Linked DNA regions of Homo sapiens: regions 1, 3, 4, 5 and 6 are each linked to region 2. Evidence: promoter capture Hi-C in human tissues and cell types (Jung and others, 2019). All regions are on one chromosome and are shown on one strand. The core of a region is centred on a gene start or on the middle of the fragment in contact, and the rest is flanking DNA. Distances in the headings are between cores, read along the strand shown.

Region 1 (2,700 bases), core at 6-2,505, 320 kb after region 2:
CAGGCTTAGACCAAGAAGTTGCAGAAAAGAACTGAATTAATGAGAAGTCAACATAAATTATAAGACATATTCTGTGAGTAAAATAAATCCTGGATAGTATAGAATTAGGGGCCTCTCTAGCTTCCAGAGGAATCCTTTTATTTCTAAATATGCAATAAAAGGAACAAAGACTTCTTTGGACTTTAAAAAAGAAACAAGAGCCCTTTGGGAGACTTTTCAGATAAAAGTTGCAAACTTTAGAACAGACAGAAAAGCTTTTTTTTTTTCCATTGTACATAATTTTCATTAAGTATATCATGTCATTTGTTATTTTAGAAGATACACAGTTGTTCAAAGCTTACATTTTTCGGTATTACCAGCTGTTTCATTTAAGTGCTCATAACTAGATAACAACAGGAAAAGTAAAATATACATTGTAGAGAGTCTGACTCTAGTCATATATACATAGACTTCTTTATTCCTGCTTTCAGTTTTCCTCACATAGCAGCTTTGTATGTGTATTGCCAGCTATATTTTGTTCTTTAGAAATATCTTGGATTTTCCAAGATATATATACATACACATACATAAGTGTGATGAAGGTTCAGGTAGCTTACTAGCTTTCTATTGCTAGTACCCTAAAGACTAGTACTCTAATAAGGAGACTAAGGTGGCACCCACATAGATATCTTGCATCCTCAGTTGTGTGTGTGTGTGTGTTCATATACATATGCTTATTTCTTCTATCAAGGGAAAAGTTCAGTTAGAAGACATACTTCACCATCTTGAAAAAGAAGAAATCAATCCCCTTGCTACTACAGAAGAACAACTCTGTTTGGTGCTTATTCCAGCCAGCACAGTGAAGACAGGCTGAGGACTGCTACCACAGATGTAGAAGAGCTTATAGTGAAGCACATGGGTGAAACAAAAGAAGTGAGAACTAATAGCATAGAATTTTAAAGACACCTGTGATTTTGTTCATTGCCCTTCATTAAATTGACATATTAAAAACTAATGTTTGGCTATCACTGTATAGTTTGAAAAGCACCCACGTGTAGACCTTTTTTTTTTTCTAATGAAACATGGCAACAGTCTGTGTTGGTTTCCATTAAGACTCCATGTATAGGATGTTGCCCAGTGATGACTGGCTGAACATCTAAACAGGACTGCTCCAGGTAGCTTTCATTATCTTGGTAAAGTCATCCTTCTCTCAGGAGCTGACCTTCTAGGTGACTCTTTTTTTTGAAGGCTTGGAAACTAATGTCGGCATAGTATCAGTGGATCTGCTTCTCAAAGGTGGGCTTGTATTAACCAAAGTCATAGAGATGAGACACCTCCTTTTTAATTGACAATAAGAAATATAATTGCCAGAGGAACTAAACATGTATTTTTGGTGGCTGATGTATTCTCTTACAGGCACATTATGTGGGAAGCCAACTTTTAATTAGATGTTTACTTGGTGAACAAATGATTCTAACTTTTTATAGCATTGGCTGAGATAGCCAGGTTTCCACAATAGGGCTATCTATATCTACCCTCGTTTCTGGACCTCATATCCTAGGACCAGGCACCTAGTGCTTAGAGGAGTAGATAAAGCTATTTTTTTTTTGGCCCTATTGTTACTCTCTTGGATGTTTCCAATACTCATCAACATACTTTCTTTAAATGAACTAATGAATTATCTCAGGTTGCCTGGGAATCACTCTGCTATGTTTTCACATCTCAGCTTCACACAGGTAACATTTTTAAATTTAATTCTTAAAGGACAATCCAATCTCCAAATTCTAAAGAAGAATGCAGCTCCTTTAGAATGAAAAGCAGTATAGCATCATAGAGTGTGAACTTTAACATTAGGCAGATGGGGGTGAAAAGTTGCCTTTAGCATTATCTTTCTGTTTAACTCTGGGCAAGTTACTCAACTGCTTTGAGCTTGAAATTTCTGTCTGTAAGATAGAGATGTTAATAGCATCTTCAAAGGGATTTGTGAGATTTATACAGGTTAGTGTGTATAAATTACCCATGTACTTGGCACCTAGCAAGTGTTCAATAAATGATAGCTATTATCATTAGAAATGGATATTGTTCCTGCCATTTTAAAGAGGAAACGAAAGTTTGCCAGGAAGTGATAAAGTTGAACTGTGATTCCTATGTTCCTTCTATACTATTCATCTTTCTGTACATATTTTAAGGAGTTTTCCTATAGGCTTCCAAAGAATTCACCAAAATGCAATTCAGTTATTTCGGTAGTCTACTTCTAAGCACTTTGGCGTACTAAGAACTCAGTCTCTGGTTTCTACCCATCAGAGTATGAATTCTAGCTCCTCCCCTTATTCCCTATGTGACAAGGCAAGTCTCTTAGCCTCTCTAAGCCTGCTTCTTCACCTCCAAAGTGGGAGAATAATAGTCCCATGTGGTTGTGGAGACAATTAAATATTTGATGTACTTAATATAGTGCCTGGAGCATATTCGCTTTCTACCTGTTATTATGCACATAAAAGTAGCTTTTTGTGAAGCCGTTATATTAACTGCAAGCTTTTCAAAGAATACACAACAATTTTTAATGTAATCTCCTGTTAACATTTAATCATCTTAGCCATCAGTTTCAGCATAGCAGTATAAACCTAATTATTATGTAGATTTTTTTCTGTTCATGGATATCATGACCATATTTCCTAAACCACAGAGAGGGAAACTTGATTTAAAACCTGGTATGTTGATAGA
Region 2 (2,720 bases), core at 37-2,536:
TAAGAAAAAGGAAGATGGCATTTCAGGCAGGTGGAATGAGTAGGCAAAGACATGAGATGGGATTAGACCTGTGCAAATAGGGTTGGTATGGGGAAGCACGATGACATCAGATTTTAGCCACTTTTGGGAGTGGCATCTTAAATGCCAAGGTGAGCTATCAGGGCTTCAATCCAACGTTCAGGCTCAATGTCAGGGGAGCCTGCCACATGCCAGAGTCTGTGCCTGGCAGAGCTGAGCCCTGGCACACGCACTGTTTACAGCTGCCTGGTATGGCAGTGGTGATATCACCCTTAGAGACTTTGCCCTCTTCTCTCTGACCCAACCTTCAACCACTGGGGCAGTAGGTTATGCATTGCCTAGAAGGCAACTGTAAGATTCAGGGGCTGCTATGGATGCATTACCCAGGAGATAAGGGCAACCTCAGGTGGGCCGGGGCCCTCACAGCAACCTTACGAGAGGGGTTGTATCATGCCCATTTGATGGAAGAGAAAACTAAGATTCCATTAGAATTGATGTGACGTATCCTAAATCACACAGCTGCAGCAGGACTAGGATTTGAATGCGGGTCAATCTGCCTCCAACACTACTGCCTTTTCCTCCATGCTGGATTAGGCTATTGGCTTCTGAAAGCACAGACAGGTGAGATGGGTCAAACATGGCCTGAAGCACCCAGGCACAGGTGGGAGATGGCAAGCAGAGGCAGGTTCAAAACGTGGGGCCAGGACTGGTCTGAAAGATAGTCGTTAAATAGCACTGAGGAGAGGGAGTGAGAGAGATGTGGGTCTTGGGGGAGTGGGGTCTTGAGAACCCTGAAATCAGCAGTGTCTGCCCACTTTGCCCTGGACCAGCCTCTCTGTCTGTATCCTTCCCCCAGAGAAAGGACCATGGGCTGACCTGGGCCAAGGACACCTGGCTGGAGCCCCTTCTCTGACATTAACTAGCTCCGTGACCTGGGGAAAGCCACCCTCCCTCCTGAGCCTCACTTTTCCTGTCTGTAAAATGGCCTCCCCGTCATCACACCCACACAGGTGTCTTGAGGAGTGAATGATGGTGTGCTCCAAGGCCCCCATGGAGAGCCCGGCACATGGCAGGCACTCGGTGTTCAAGCACTGTGTTCCCATAGACTCTGGGCTCCTGCCCTCCTCGCCCCCAACCCCCTTCCTAGGAACCAGCCCCGGCTTGTCAGAGAGCCAGCTAGCTGTCAACCCCACCCCAGCTGGCCAGTTAATGAGTGACCAGGACTCCTGAGCCTGACCTATAAGGAGGTGCTAGGCAGGGACACAGATGGGAGACGGTGGACAGCGGCAGGGGGAACCCAGGGAGCGCGATGGGCTGCAGGGCTGCATCAGGGCTCCTGCCAGGAGTGGCCGTGGTCCTCCTGCTGCTGCTGCAGAGCACACAGTCAGTCTACATCCAGGTGAGTCCCTTGGCCAGCGTTCCCTTTGCCTGAAGGGCCCCATGGTGGGAGGCTAGGCTGGAGAGGGTGTACTGGGAATTCAGAGGGGCACCGGGGGAGCACGGGGCCCGGGGCTCAGCCCAACACCCATCACAGCCCAGAGACCAAGGCAGCTGGTGGGTGGGGGCAGCCAGATGTTGATGGCAGTGATGATGGCAATGACAACACCAAACTGATTCAGCGCTGCTCCCCTCAAAGGCCCGTGCTGGTCACAGAGGTCAGGGTGTGGAACAGAAGGCTCCTCCTTGCATGGGAGGAGGCCAGAAAGGGAAGGAGACACCCTGTTATGCTCCCACAGTTCCGTATATTCACCCACATGTAGGTGGAGGAGGACAGGCTCCAGAAAAATTTTCCTGAGAAGTAACCCTTGAGCTGGCATTGCAAGATGAACAGGAGGTTGCCAGACACAGATGATGGGGAAACTGTTCCAGGCCAAGGGGCACAGCATGTGCAAAGACCAGATAGAAGACTATGGGGGTTCCAGTGCCCTTCCAGGGGGCATGGGAGAGTGGCAGTAGTCGTCACAGCAGGGCCTGTCTGCCACGTCACAGGGGATGCTGCTGGCCTCGCCCAGCATAGCAGAGACGTCTGTGGCCCTGGGTGTCACATCCCTGACTCTGGGCATGGTCTCCTTGGGAAGAACAAAGTGGGTCCCAGAGAGGGGTGCAGGAGACTTGGCCTCCCCAACAGCCCTGGCCTCAGAGACCAGCTACTTGGGGCTGCCATCACTCTGCCATGTGAGCTCAGGCAGGCGTACTCAGTTAGTGATTGTGCCCTGGTACCAGGCCCCCACGGGAGATGTCAGATGAGGGAACTGAGGCTGAGTGGGGAACAGACAGGCAGCCGGTCATGGGCAGAGGTGGGATTTGAACCAGGGCTTGTCTGTCTCTAAAGCCTCGAACCACTGTGCTCCACAGCCCCGCTGCTTCTTCCTCACACCTCTCACCGCAGCGGCTCTTTCCAGTGTGGCCCTGGACTTCCCATAGAGACGGGGAAGGCTCTGGAGGATCTGCAGGGTTTGAGCAACCCTGGGTGTCATGGCAGTGCCTGCCCCTGGACCAGGTCTTGACCTGCTCCTATCTCCTCTCCCCTGTCTGTAGTACCAAGGCTTCCGGGTCCAGCTGGAATCCATGAAGAAGCTGAGTGACCTGGAGGCACAGTGGGCACCCAGCCCCCGCCTGCAGGCCCAGAGCCTCCTGCCCGCCGTGTGCCACCACCCTGCTCTGCCTCAGGACCTTCAGCCTGTCTGCGCCTCGCAGGAGGC
Region 3 (2,700 bases), core at 93-2,592, 290 kb before region 2:
AATTAGAATTCTGGCTAATTTTCCTGTGGGCACACCTTAAGCACACAAACCTGAAAGCAGCAGAGCAGCGAAACTGGCAGCCAAAATAAAGCAAAAAGAAGAACATCTTCCAGGAGGGAGGTGGAATCAGATTGAGGCAAAGCCAGGACTAGGTTCTTGGCAACGTGATTAAAATCCCGAACTACGAGGGAGGAGAGGCCTTGCTGCCAGCCCCTCAGCACACTCGAGCCAGGGCACTGGAGGTGGGTGGTGGTTAAAAGCTGTGTGCCATTCACAGCCTATAGCACTGCCTGTGTCCGTCAGTATGGGCAGAATGGCTAATGACTCCAAATAAAACTCCTACACCATGCTCCATCTGGGGACCATGTTATAGCTGAATACACAAAGTCACTTTGTAGCTTGCCCGATAAGTCCACTTTAATTCCTCCAAAATAATTCATGGAGGCCTGTGAGCACACTGCACCAGGCCAAGCACTAGGGTTATAAAAAAGAAATGAAAAAAGAAAAACCTAGTTGCTCTACTCTAAGGGCTTATGATTTAACCAAGGAGATGAGATTCACAATGGTAGCTGGCAATACGGTAAATCAAGGCACAAAGAATCCAGGAGTGTGTTCTGCTAGAGGCCCAAGAGGGCAGCTGGCATTTTCAGGAGGATGCAGGTCAGCCTTTATGGGAAAATGGATTGAGTTTACCTTGAAGGGTGGGGAAATTTTAGGCAGGTGGCTAAGAAGTGAGCTGGCCTCTGGGGATGTGGGGAGACTGTGAGCGCCGCATGAGACAGGCTCTGCATCCTGCACATGCTGCCTGCATTTCCAGCCCTGGGAGGAGGATTTGTGCAAGGGAGGCAGAGATGAGAGCGTTGATAGGAAGGAAGGAGGCCAGATTTCAGAGAGGTCTGAATCCCACACAGAGAAGCTTGGGCTTTCTCCAATAAGCTGCAGGGAGCAGTTGGAGACTTGTGAACAGCAGATTAACATAATTAAATAAAAACTTCAAGACTTTAGCTTTTTGTGGGGATGCAGACTAGACGAGAGGTGATGAGAACATTAGAAAGCTTTTACAGTGTAGACCAGGCTGGCCACGGTGTTGGCAACGGGAGAGAAAGAAATAGATCTGGAAGATACCACAAAGCAAATATCTAAAGGGCTTGGAAACAAATTTGGCCGGGGGGCGGATGAAGGATGAGTCAGGGGCAGTTCTGAATTTTAAAACTTGGGGGATGTGAGGTGGAGGTGGCATCGTCAGACATAAAGACACAGGTTCGAGCAGCTTTACAAGAACTTAAAAAGGCCAGACCACCCAAAGGTGGCACTGACTGGAAGCACGAGGCTACGGACAATGCTTCCTCATTTCAAAGGGGAGTTAACAAGTTAAGTGAAGTTTTATCCACCAATGAAATGGCTGTCTGTCCAAACAAATAAGCAACAAGTGTGGGCTCTGCACTCCTCTCCACCTCTCTTGCTCCTTCCGTTGATGCTCCCCTAACATTTATCTGACCATAAGCTAAGAGCAGTCATGAGAACAAGATAGAAATCCTCAGAAATCCAGAACTCTAATCCTTCCTTCTGCTGAAATACTGTAGGGCTTAGTTATTTTCACACTTATGCATATGCTTCAGTGTGTAAGAACTGAGTCATTGTTTTCTTTTCTCCTCCCCTCTCCCCTCTCTTTCCCTCCTCTTTGCCACCCAGCACCTCCTCTGCCTCCACCCCCAAGCCACTGCAAACATCCTGGCATGCATCTCTCCCCATCCATTTCTGCATGGCTGTCAACATTTCCCATTCCCTCCAAGCTTGCCTCCTGCCTCCTATTTCTTTAGACACACTGGGAGTCTAAGAAATGAACTACAGATTCAACAGGACTGTGGACCACAGATCTTGACAAAGACAGGCAGCTTGTTGTGAAAAGAGAATTGGAGGGCAGGTCAGAGACTTAGGTTTTAGGAGTCAGGCAAGGGAATCAGATAAAGATCCCTGAAAACAAGGGATATCATCACTGCCCAGCTTTACTGACGTAGAGACAAGTTTTCTCACTTGGCAGATATAGACGGAAGATAAGCAGGTTCCCTTTCAGATGGTAACCCCAAGTGCAGTGGCTCACAGCTGCAGTTATTCTGAATGGCAGCGGGAGGGAAGGAAACAATGAATGCACACACACACAAGAGCAATGCTTAAGGTGAAATGGACTTGAACAGTCTCAAATGCACACCTCCTCCAGTTCCTGGAAGGCAAGGATGAGTCAAACAGAAGTTGAATTTCACAGGCGTTCCTCCTCCACTGTCACATACGTTCCCAGACGCAGAGTCATCTGTGCACATGTCACCCAGCATCGACTGCTACCAGCAACTGCCTCCTGGGAAGTTAAGCTGCAGGGTCAGATCTGCTTCTGCTGGGGAGCTGAAAGTAAACTGCGTAAGGTGGGGGTGATCCCAGTAATGTGAGGGCAGGAAAAAGCAGAGAACGCTGGAAAAGGATGGCAGGAATTAACATGGCTCTGAAGAGAGGAGCCAAGGATCACCTGATCTGTAGAGCCTGGAATCTGCAGTTATTTCTAGTTTCCTAGACAACCCTGACTAAACTAGGAAGACATCTGAACTCCGGCTCAAAAATAATATAGGTTCTTGGAATGGGACAAAAGAAGAAAGGAAAGGGGAGGTGATACCATGTGCCAGTTCAGGGAGTGGGGACCAGACCTTCAGA
Region 4 (2,700 bases), core at 187-2,686, 440 kb after region 2:
AATACCAGGGGTTTGGTCTAGGTCCCATTGCTTAGTGCACAGAAAGCCAATTACTGAGACAATGAGTATTGCCAGGGAAAAAGGCTTTATTAGGGTGCCGCAGTTGAGGAGAATGGGAGATCAGTCTCAAATCTATCTCCCTGACCAACTAAAATTTGGGGGGTTATAGCAGGGAAGGAATGTAAAACAGGAATTAGTGAGGGGTAAGGAACCAATCATGAGGAATGAGGCATCTCATTTTCTGTATGCTACGATCTGGTGAATTTTAGTTTCTTGCCTGAGGGTCAGTCTCCTGAGGGAGGAACTCAGATATAAATTTCAAGTTTTAAGACTGGGAGGGTACATTTCTACATTTGTTTAAAAAACTGTAAGTGTAATTTCTGTGGGACAGTTGGGCTGGTTTCATGATGAGACTGAAAGAGTGCTAATGGCCCTTGTAGGGGTGGAGGGAAAATTTCCCCTCCCCTTCTGAAGGTTTTCTGAAAAGTCAACTGACAAAAGACAGATTAATAGGAGAAAAAGCAAACACAATTTTATTAACGTGGGGTGGGGAAAATCAAGTGTGATGACCCAGTGTCTAAGTGTGTTGCAGAAGCTTATATACCCATTTCCAGGGGAGAGGGAGATGAGGAATGTAGAGAATTCCAAGGGACAGTAACTCATTAGGGAGAGTGAAGGGACCCTGGAGACAAAAATTAATTCATAAATTATTTACCTGGGAATTTGAATGAGTTTAAGAGATAGCCATTGTCTTGTGAAAAGGTCTGTGGAGGTGTTGTTATATTCCTCAATCTTCTTTTCTGAAGATCCATAAATAATGCAGTTTCAGGGAGGGGATGGGTATAATTGTTCTCCTTGGTAAGTCCAGTCTTCACGCAGATAAGAGAAAAGCCTCTTCTAGCATCTGCTGATCTCTAAGGGCCTTTCATTCAAAATATTTAGTATACCAGGATACCATATTTGAGGTAAAATTCTGTGAGTTCCTTTACCCTCTTTTGGAAAATGGTAAATTTTCTCATAAAATGCAGGCTCATTTATGATTCATTTATAGCAGTGTTAATGTGTGCTTATTATTATCAATAGTGCTTGTAACTAACATTACCTTGAACCCAGAAGATGAAGGGCTCAACTCGTAAAGCAGTAAGGAAGAAAGAATATGGGATTCAGGATTCGAGCCCTACCTCCACTTTGTCTTAACTGTTCTCTCTACCACAACTTCCTCATCTCTGAAATAAGGACAACTACTTTTTCCTCATAGGGTCATTTTGATGAGTGAGTGAGAGAAGTAAGGAAAGCTTCTATCACAAAAGAGGTTCCCTGTGTTGGTCCCTTTAGCTTATAGACACATACCCTACTTCATTGAACCAAAAAAAAAAAAAATCCCTTGTGATGCCATAAAAATTTTAGGTCTGAATTTCATTTGCAATTCATGGTGTGATTTAATCTACATTAATTGCCCTCAGGAAACTTCTATATCAGAACGTAGATGAGTTACACAGGCAAGTGAGAACCTTACAAGATAAAGAAAATCTACTGGAAATGACCTGTTCTCAGCAACAATCCAGAATTCAGCAACAAGAGGCCCTACTTAAACAACTGGAAAATGAAAAAAGAAAATATGATGAGGTAAGAAAGTAAATAGACATGCTTCTCAGTTTTCCTATTCCCATTAGTAACAGCTAATTATTATTGAGTGCCTAGCACTTTACTAAACCTAATCCTTTAGTCAGGGTTCAGTCAGGAAAGTAGAATCTACTCTAGGTATTTCAAGCAAGAAGAGATTTAACACAGGGAATAAGAGCTTACAAAACAGTTGGAAGGGACCAGGGGAGAGTAGAGTCAGAAAGGACTGCTGCTAGCTTTCAATAAATCCAGAAGTTCAGAAATCACAGAGAAGCCACCTCCTGCAGCGTCAAAGTGGAGAATTTGCAGGAACTGTCCTGAAGCTCCTACAAATGTCTCATCTGTTGTCTGCCCTTTTATCCATCTGCTAGTGCTAAAGAACTGTTGGGGGGAAAGACAAACAAACCTGTTTCTTCTTTCTATACTCGTACCACTCTGAATACTTCACTTCTGATATAGTTTGGATGATTCTCCTCTCCAAATCTCTTGCTGAAATGTAATCCCCATCATTGGAGGTGGGGCTTAACAGGAGGTGGTTTTGTCATGGGGGTGGGTCCCTCATAAATGGCTTGATGCTGTCCTCACGATAATGAATTATTGCGAGATCTAGATGTTTAAAAGTGTGTGGCACCTCTCCGCTCTCTCTTGCTCCCACTATCACCGTGTGACATGTCTGCTCCCATTTCACCTACCACCATGATTGTTAGCTTCCTGAGTCCCTCACCAGAAGCTGACCAGATGCCGATACCATGCTTCCTGTATAGTCTGCATATCTGTAAGCCAATTAAACTTCTTTTCTTTATAAATTACCCAGTCTCGGGTATTTCTTTATAGCAGTGCAAGAACAGCTTGACACAGAAAATTGGTACCAAGAAGCGGAGCGTTACTAAAAAAGATACCTGAAAATGTGGAAGCAAGTTTGGAACTGGGTAACAGGCAGAGATTGGAAGAGTTTGGAGGGCTCAGAAGAAGGCAGGAGGACCAGGAGCAGTGGCTCACAACTGTAATCCCAGCGCTTGAGAGGCTGAGGTAGGAGGATTGCTTGAGGCCAGGAGTTCAAGACCAGCCTGGGCAACA
Region 5 (2,700 bases), core at 2-2,501, 480 kb after region 2:
TTTGGAGCTTTAAAATTGACTGCCTCACTGGATTTCAGACTTGCCTGGGCCCTGTAACCCCTTTGTTTTAGCTAATTTCTCCCATTTGGAATGCTGTAGTTACCCAATACCTGTACCCCCATTGTATCTAGAAAGTAACTAGCTTGCTTTTGATTTTACAGGCTCATAGGCAGAAGGGACTTGCCTTGTTTCCGATGACACTTTGAACTGTGGACTTTTGGGTTAATGCTGAAATGAATGAAGACTTTTGGGGACTGTTGGCAAAGCATGATTGGTTTTGAAATGTGAGGACATGAGATTTGGAGGGGCCGGGGCAGAATGATATGGTTTGGCTTTGTCCCCACCCAAATCTTATCTTGAATTTTGTCTCCCAAAATTCCCACATGTTGTGCAAGGGACCCAGGGGGAGGTAATTGAATCATGGGGGCCAGTCTTTCCTGTGCTATTCTCGTGATAGTGACTAAGTCTCATGAGATCTGATGGGTTTATCAGAGGTTGCTGCTTTTGCCTCTTCCCCATTTTCTCTTGCCACTGCCGTGTAAGAAGTGCTTTTCACCTCCCACCATGATTCTGAGGCCTCCCCAGCCATGTGGAACTGTAAGTCCAATTAAACCTCTTTTTGTTCCCAGTTTTGAGTATGTATTTATCAGCAGCTTGAAAGCAAACTAATACACTATCTTATAGCTAATTATTTTAACGTGATTACAACTTAATATGGTTTGCATAAACAAAGAAGGAAAAAGAAAACTAATACTCTATACCCTAACTTCATCCCTCCACTTTTAAACTTTTACTTGTTTCTGTTTATATCTTATTGTACTATGTCTTGAAAATTGTTGTAGTCATTATTTTTTATTGGTTTATTGTTTAGTCTTTCTACTTAAGAGTAGTTTACACACTACAGTTACAGTGTTATATTTTGTGGTTTTCTATGTATTTACTATTACCAGTGAGTCTTATACCTTCAGAAGATTTCTTATTAGTCATTAACGTCCTTTGCTTTCTGATTGAAGTACTCCCTTTAGCTTTTCTTGTAGGACAGAACCAGTGTTGATGAAATCCTTCAGCTTTGTTTGTCTGGGAAAGTATTTATTTCCCCTTCATGCTTGAAGGATATTTTCACTGGATATACTATTCTAGGGTAAAAGTTTTTTCCTTCAGCACTTTAAATATGTCATGCCACTCTCTCGTGGCCTGTAAGGTTTCCACTGAAAAGTCTGCTGCCAGACATATTGGAGTTCTATTATATGTAATTTGTTTCTTTTCTCTTGCTGCTTTTAGTATCTTTTATTTTTGACCTTTGGAAGTTTGATTATTAAATGTCTTGAGGTAATCTTTGGGTTAAATCTTCTTGTTGTTCTATAACCTTCTTGTACTTGGATATTGATATCTTTCTCTAGGTTTGGGAAGTTATCTGCTATTATCCCCTTGAATAAACTTCCTACTCCTATTTCTTTTTCTTTTTCTTTTCTTTTTTTTTTTGAGACGGAGTCTCACTCTGTCACCCAGGCTGGAGTGCAGTGGCACGATCTCGGCTCACTGCAACCTCTGCCTCCCGGGTTCAAGCAATTCTTCTGCCTCAGCCTCCCAAGTGTGTGCCACCACACCCAGCTAATTTTTGTATTTTTAGTAGACATGGGGTTTCACCATATTGGCCCGGCTGGTCTTGAACTCCTGACCTCGTGATCCGTCGGCCTCAGCCTCCCAAAGTGCTGGGATTACGGGCGTGAGCCGCTGCATGGGCCCCTGTGTCTTTTCCTACACGCTCTTTAAGGCCAATAACTCTTAGATATGTCCCCCTATTTTTTTTTTTTTTTTTTTTTTTGAGATGAAGTCTGGCTCTGTTGCCCATGCTGGAGTGCAGTGCCGCAATCTCAGCTAACTGCAACCTCTAGCTCCCGGGTTCAAGCGATTCTCCTGCCTCAGCCTCCCAAGTAGCTGGAATTACAGGCATGTACCACTACACCCAGCTAATTTTTGTATTTTTAGTAGAGATGGGGTTTCACCATGTTGGCCAGGCTGGTTGTGAATGCCTGACTTCAGGTGATCTGCCCACTTTGGCCTCCGAAAGTGTTGGGATTACAGGCGTGAGCCACTGTTCCTGGCTAGATTTGCCCTTTTGAGGCTATTTTCCAAATCCTGTAGGTGTGCTTCATTCTTTTTTATTCCTTTTGTCTTTTGTCTCCTCTGCTTTTGTATTTACTTTTCTTTTTCTTTTTTTCTTTTTTTTTTTCAGATGGAGTCTCGCTCTGTTGCCCAGGTTGGAGTGCAATGGCATGAACTCAGCTCACTGCAACCTCTGCCTCCCAGGTTCAAGCAATTATCCTACCTCGACCTCCTGAGTAGCTGGAATTATAGGTGCGTGCCACCACACCTAGCTATTTTTGTATTTTTAGTAGAGACAGGGTTTTGCCATGTTGGCCAGGCTGTTCTCGAACTCCTGACCTCAGGTGACCTGCCTGCCTTGGCCTCCCCAAGTACTGGGATTACAGGCGTGAGCCACCGCACCTGGCCCTGTGTATTTTCAAATAGTCTATCTTCAAGTTTACTAATTCTTCTGCTTGATCAATTCTGCTATTAAATGACTCTAATGCATTCTGCAGTATGCCTATTGCATTTTTCAGCTCCAGAATTTCCTCTTGATTCTTTTTAATTATTTCAATCTCTGTTAAATTTATCTGATAAAATTCTGAATTCATT
Region 6 (2,700 bases), core at 4-2,503, 490 kb before region 2:
TTCTGACAAAGCCCCAAAGGGAAGGACCACACTTCCTGATCTGGCATGCAAGGCCCCACGGACCAGCTGCATCTCCCAGAGCTCAGCCCATCCTGCCATTTGCCCAGCCACCACCCCCAACACGCACCACTTTGCACCAGTTTCCACTTCTTGAGGTCTTCATACAGGCTTTCCCTTTGAAATGTCTTCTCCACCCCCTCCAGCTGTCCTTCACACCCTGAATCCAAGCCTGCCCTTGATACAGGTCCTTCTCTTGAGCAGGGCAACTGGGGTGGGGTGCCCCCTGGGACAGATTCCTGCTCCTCACTCCACTCCTGCCCTGCCCCCACTGTCCTGCTTCCCGTTTTCTGTCTGAAAGCAACTCCAGGCAGAGGAGGTGGGTGCCTTGTTATAATTCATATGCCCTGAGGGGTGACTTTCTATCATTCACACACACAGGCTCAGATGACAGCCTTGCTCCTGCCCCAAGTTGAATGACATCCTCCTCCCCTTTGAGAGGTGGCCTGGCCTCAAGGGACCCTCCCAATGGATTTGGTCACCTTCCATGATGCCACAGGCAACTCAATAGTTCCTGCCTCTACAGACTTGCCCATCACCTCACATTGAAGTCAGTTATTGGGGGCCTCCTCTTCCTCAGACTGGGAGCTTCAGGGAACTTTCCATCTTGATCCCTCTCCCCTCCCAGGACTGATAAGTTTACAAATGTTTGTTAAGTGAATGAATGGTCCTGAGGGGCAAATCCTAAGACAAACTAACCAGAGGACGGGGGAGAATTTACCCAACCCAGAACAGTGGCTGATGTCCTAGGGTCCCTGGCTGGGGGCTGGGATGAAAGGCGGGGTTCTCAGCTAGACTGGCTTGAATGCTCAGGAGACTGGGATGGCTTGGGATTTGTCTCCTCCTTTCTCTTGACAAACTCCTCTGCAGCCATCAGGGAGCCTGGGATATCCCCATGCCAACCCCCCAAAACACGGAGTCCTGAGCTGGCCCTAATGAGGTGGAGGGGAAGGATGAAGGAAAATGCAATTTGTCAAGCCCTTTCATTGTACCAGACACAGTCAGACTGGATGCCCCTGAGCCTTCCAAGCCATGCAGGCCTTTCCAGCGGTAGTCATTCCCCAGGCCAGGAGTGTCAGCTGGGGAGCCCTCACCTAGCTCCTCCCACAACCATCTGTCCCCACTTCAAGACTCAGCCCCCACCTCAGTTCTGGTGCCAATTCTCACTGGAAGCCAGAAGGTCTTCAGGACTCCAGCCTCAGAGCTCAGAGAAAGAAGGTGGGGGCAGACAGCCCTGCTTCGAGGCTACCAGCCTGACCTCGACTCTACTCTGTGAGCCCCCACCTGCAGACCAGGCCTCCACCAGTCTGCAGAAAGGCAGAGTTGAGGTGCAGGACACCTTTCCCACCATGTATCTGAAAGGCAGGTGGTACCAGGTGCCAGTTCCTTCCTATCAGCCCCATCCCCTGCAAGTAACTGGGCCAGGTCTTGAGAAAGTCCCAGTACTTGGCCCTGGGGGCCTTCCCACATTCCTGCATTCCTCAAACATGAATCAGGCACCATTTCTGTGTTGGGAACATGTAATACACAAGCCTGTGTTCATGGATGGAGACTGACAGGTAAACAGATATCCCATTGCTAAATGTTACACTGCTGTTTGACAAGGTTGGAGAGGGGTGGAGTAGGGGCATACAAGATGGAAAGATAAGATTCATTCTACTTCTGGAGCTACAATTCAAGAAAACTGTGATCCAGGTGTCCCGGGCTAGAATGCTGAATGCTTGTTTCCACGGAAATGTTATACACACACACACACACACACACACACACACACAGTCTGGATCTGCTGTAAAGCCAGCATCACACTGTAGAGACTTTACAAGCTAAAAGAGATTAGAGCAGAGGGCAGGTTTGGCATCTGATCTGCCATCTAGAAAGCTATCTCTATGGAATTTTGTTTCCAGCTTATAACAACAAAATTAGACACAATTTTGGAACCCACTGTTGCTCCCAAGGAGCTAGGGACCAGCACAGTGTGTTGGGAGCACTTTTAAGGTGGGGTGGGGCTGAGCAACCAGGCCCTGTGGGCCTTCTGGGTTATTTATGTTTAGGTCTTACACTGACTTAGCAACCATCCCCTCTCCATCCTCCATCCCCATTGCTGTGCTTTCCTGGACTCAGATGCTTTGGTTGTTTTCCTGTTTGGGGTGTGTGTGCGTGTGTGTGTGTGTGTGTGTATGTGTGTGTGTGTGCATGTGCACATGTATGGTAGGTGCTCTCTTCATAGACCTGTTGCACACATGAAGCTTCTGTCCTGGGACAGAGACTAGAGTTTGCATTTTATGGATATCACCTTCCTGAGGTCCAGTCCTCCAGACTCAGTTCCCATCCTTTCTCTCCAGCCTGAGAACTGTGTTTCCAGCTTCCTGACTTAACTTGATGCTGTGGATAACAGCATGGGCCTTGGAGCCACATAGACCTGGGTTCAGGCTCCAGCCCCACATTTACTGTGTCACCTTGGGCATGTTACTTGATGTCACTGATCTTGACGTTCTCATCTCCAAGGGCTGCTGGGAAGTTTTGACAAGACACTGCAATAGAACTCTTCAGTGTACAAAATAGTAGGTGCTCAATAAACAGTAGCATTGATTACTGTCCTCCCATATGGTGACTCAGAATCCTCCTCCTCTCATACTGCTCATC

What was found. Contacts are between HindIII fragments. The study calls those that stand out against the background at their distance.
Region 1: a contact is called between a fragment that was not itself captured here and the fragment with the promoter of GUCA2B in region 2, in 2 of the 25 tissues and cell types used here (bladder and heart right ventricle).
Region 3: a fragment that was not itself captured here is called in contact with the fragment with the promoter of GUCA2B in region 2 in 2 of the 25 tissues and cell types used here (hippocampus and pancreas).
Region 4: a contact is called between a fragment that was not itself captured here and the fragment with the promoter of GUCA2B in region 2, in 1 of the 25 tissues and cell types used here (aorta).
Region 5: a contact is called between a fragment that was not itself captured here and the fragment with the promoter of GUCA2B in region 2, in 1 of the 25 tissues and cell types used here (hippocampus).
Region 6: a fragment that was not itself captured here is called in contact with the fragment with the promoter of GUCA2B in region 2 in 1 of the 25 tissues and cell types used here (dorsolateral prefrontal cortex).

What each region holds. Positions count from the first base shown.
Region 1 is chr1:42,472,392-42,475,091 of GRCh38, forward strand. The region is part of intron 1 of CCDC30 (coiled-coil domain containing 30); the gene reads left to right. It also overlaps a transcript of PPCS not described here. Among named protein-coding and RNA genes, the nearest start is that of CCDC30, 10 kb to the left of the region's middle. The HindIII fragment of the contact is 4,715 bases long and covers 1-2,700 here.
Region 2 is chr1:42,152,124-42,154,843 of GRCh38, forward strand. GUCA2B (guanylate cyclase activator 2B) reads left to right here and starts at 1,287. Exons shown (of 3, transcript NM_007102.3): 1 at 1,287-1,417; 2 at 2,557-2,720. The coding sequence starts at 1,328. The HindIII fragment of the contact is 15,047 bases long and covers 1-2,720 here.
Region 3 is chr1:41,860,827-41,863,526 of GRCh38, forward strand. All of the region lies in intron 1 of HIVEP3 (HIVEP zinc finger 3), which reads right to left. Among named protein-coding and RNA genes, the nearest start is that of HIVEP3, 57 kb to the right of the region's middle. The HindIII fragment of the contact is 5,281 bases long and covers 1-2,700 here.
Region 4 is chr1:42,587,858-42,590,557 of GRCh38, forward strand. CCDC30 (coiled-coil domain containing 30) reads left to right here. Exons shown (of 21, transcript NM_001395517.1): 14 at 1,464-1,626. The region is part of intron 1 of LOC124904162 (a long non-coding RNA gene); the gene reads right to left. Among named protein-coding and RNA genes, the nearest start is that of PPIH, 69 kb to the right of the region's middle. The HindIII fragment of the contact is 4,504 bases long and covers 1-2,700 here.
Region 5 is chr1:42,628,168-42,630,867 of GRCh38, forward strand. All of the region lies in intron 15 of CCDC30 (coiled-coil domain containing 30), which reads left to right. The region is part of intron 1 of LOC124904162 (a long non-coding RNA gene); the gene reads right to left. Among named protein-coding and RNA genes, the nearest start is that of PPIH, 29 kb to the right of the region's middle. The HindIII fragment of the contact is 3,401 bases long and covers 1-2,700 here.
Region 6 is chr1:41,663,909-41,666,608 of GRCh38, forward strand. The region is part of intron 2 of HIVEP3 (HIVEP zinc finger 3); the gene reads right to left. Among named protein-coding and RNA genes, the nearest start is that of EDN2, 180 kb to the left of the region's middle. The HindIII fragment of the contact is 4,895 bases long and covers 1-2,700 here.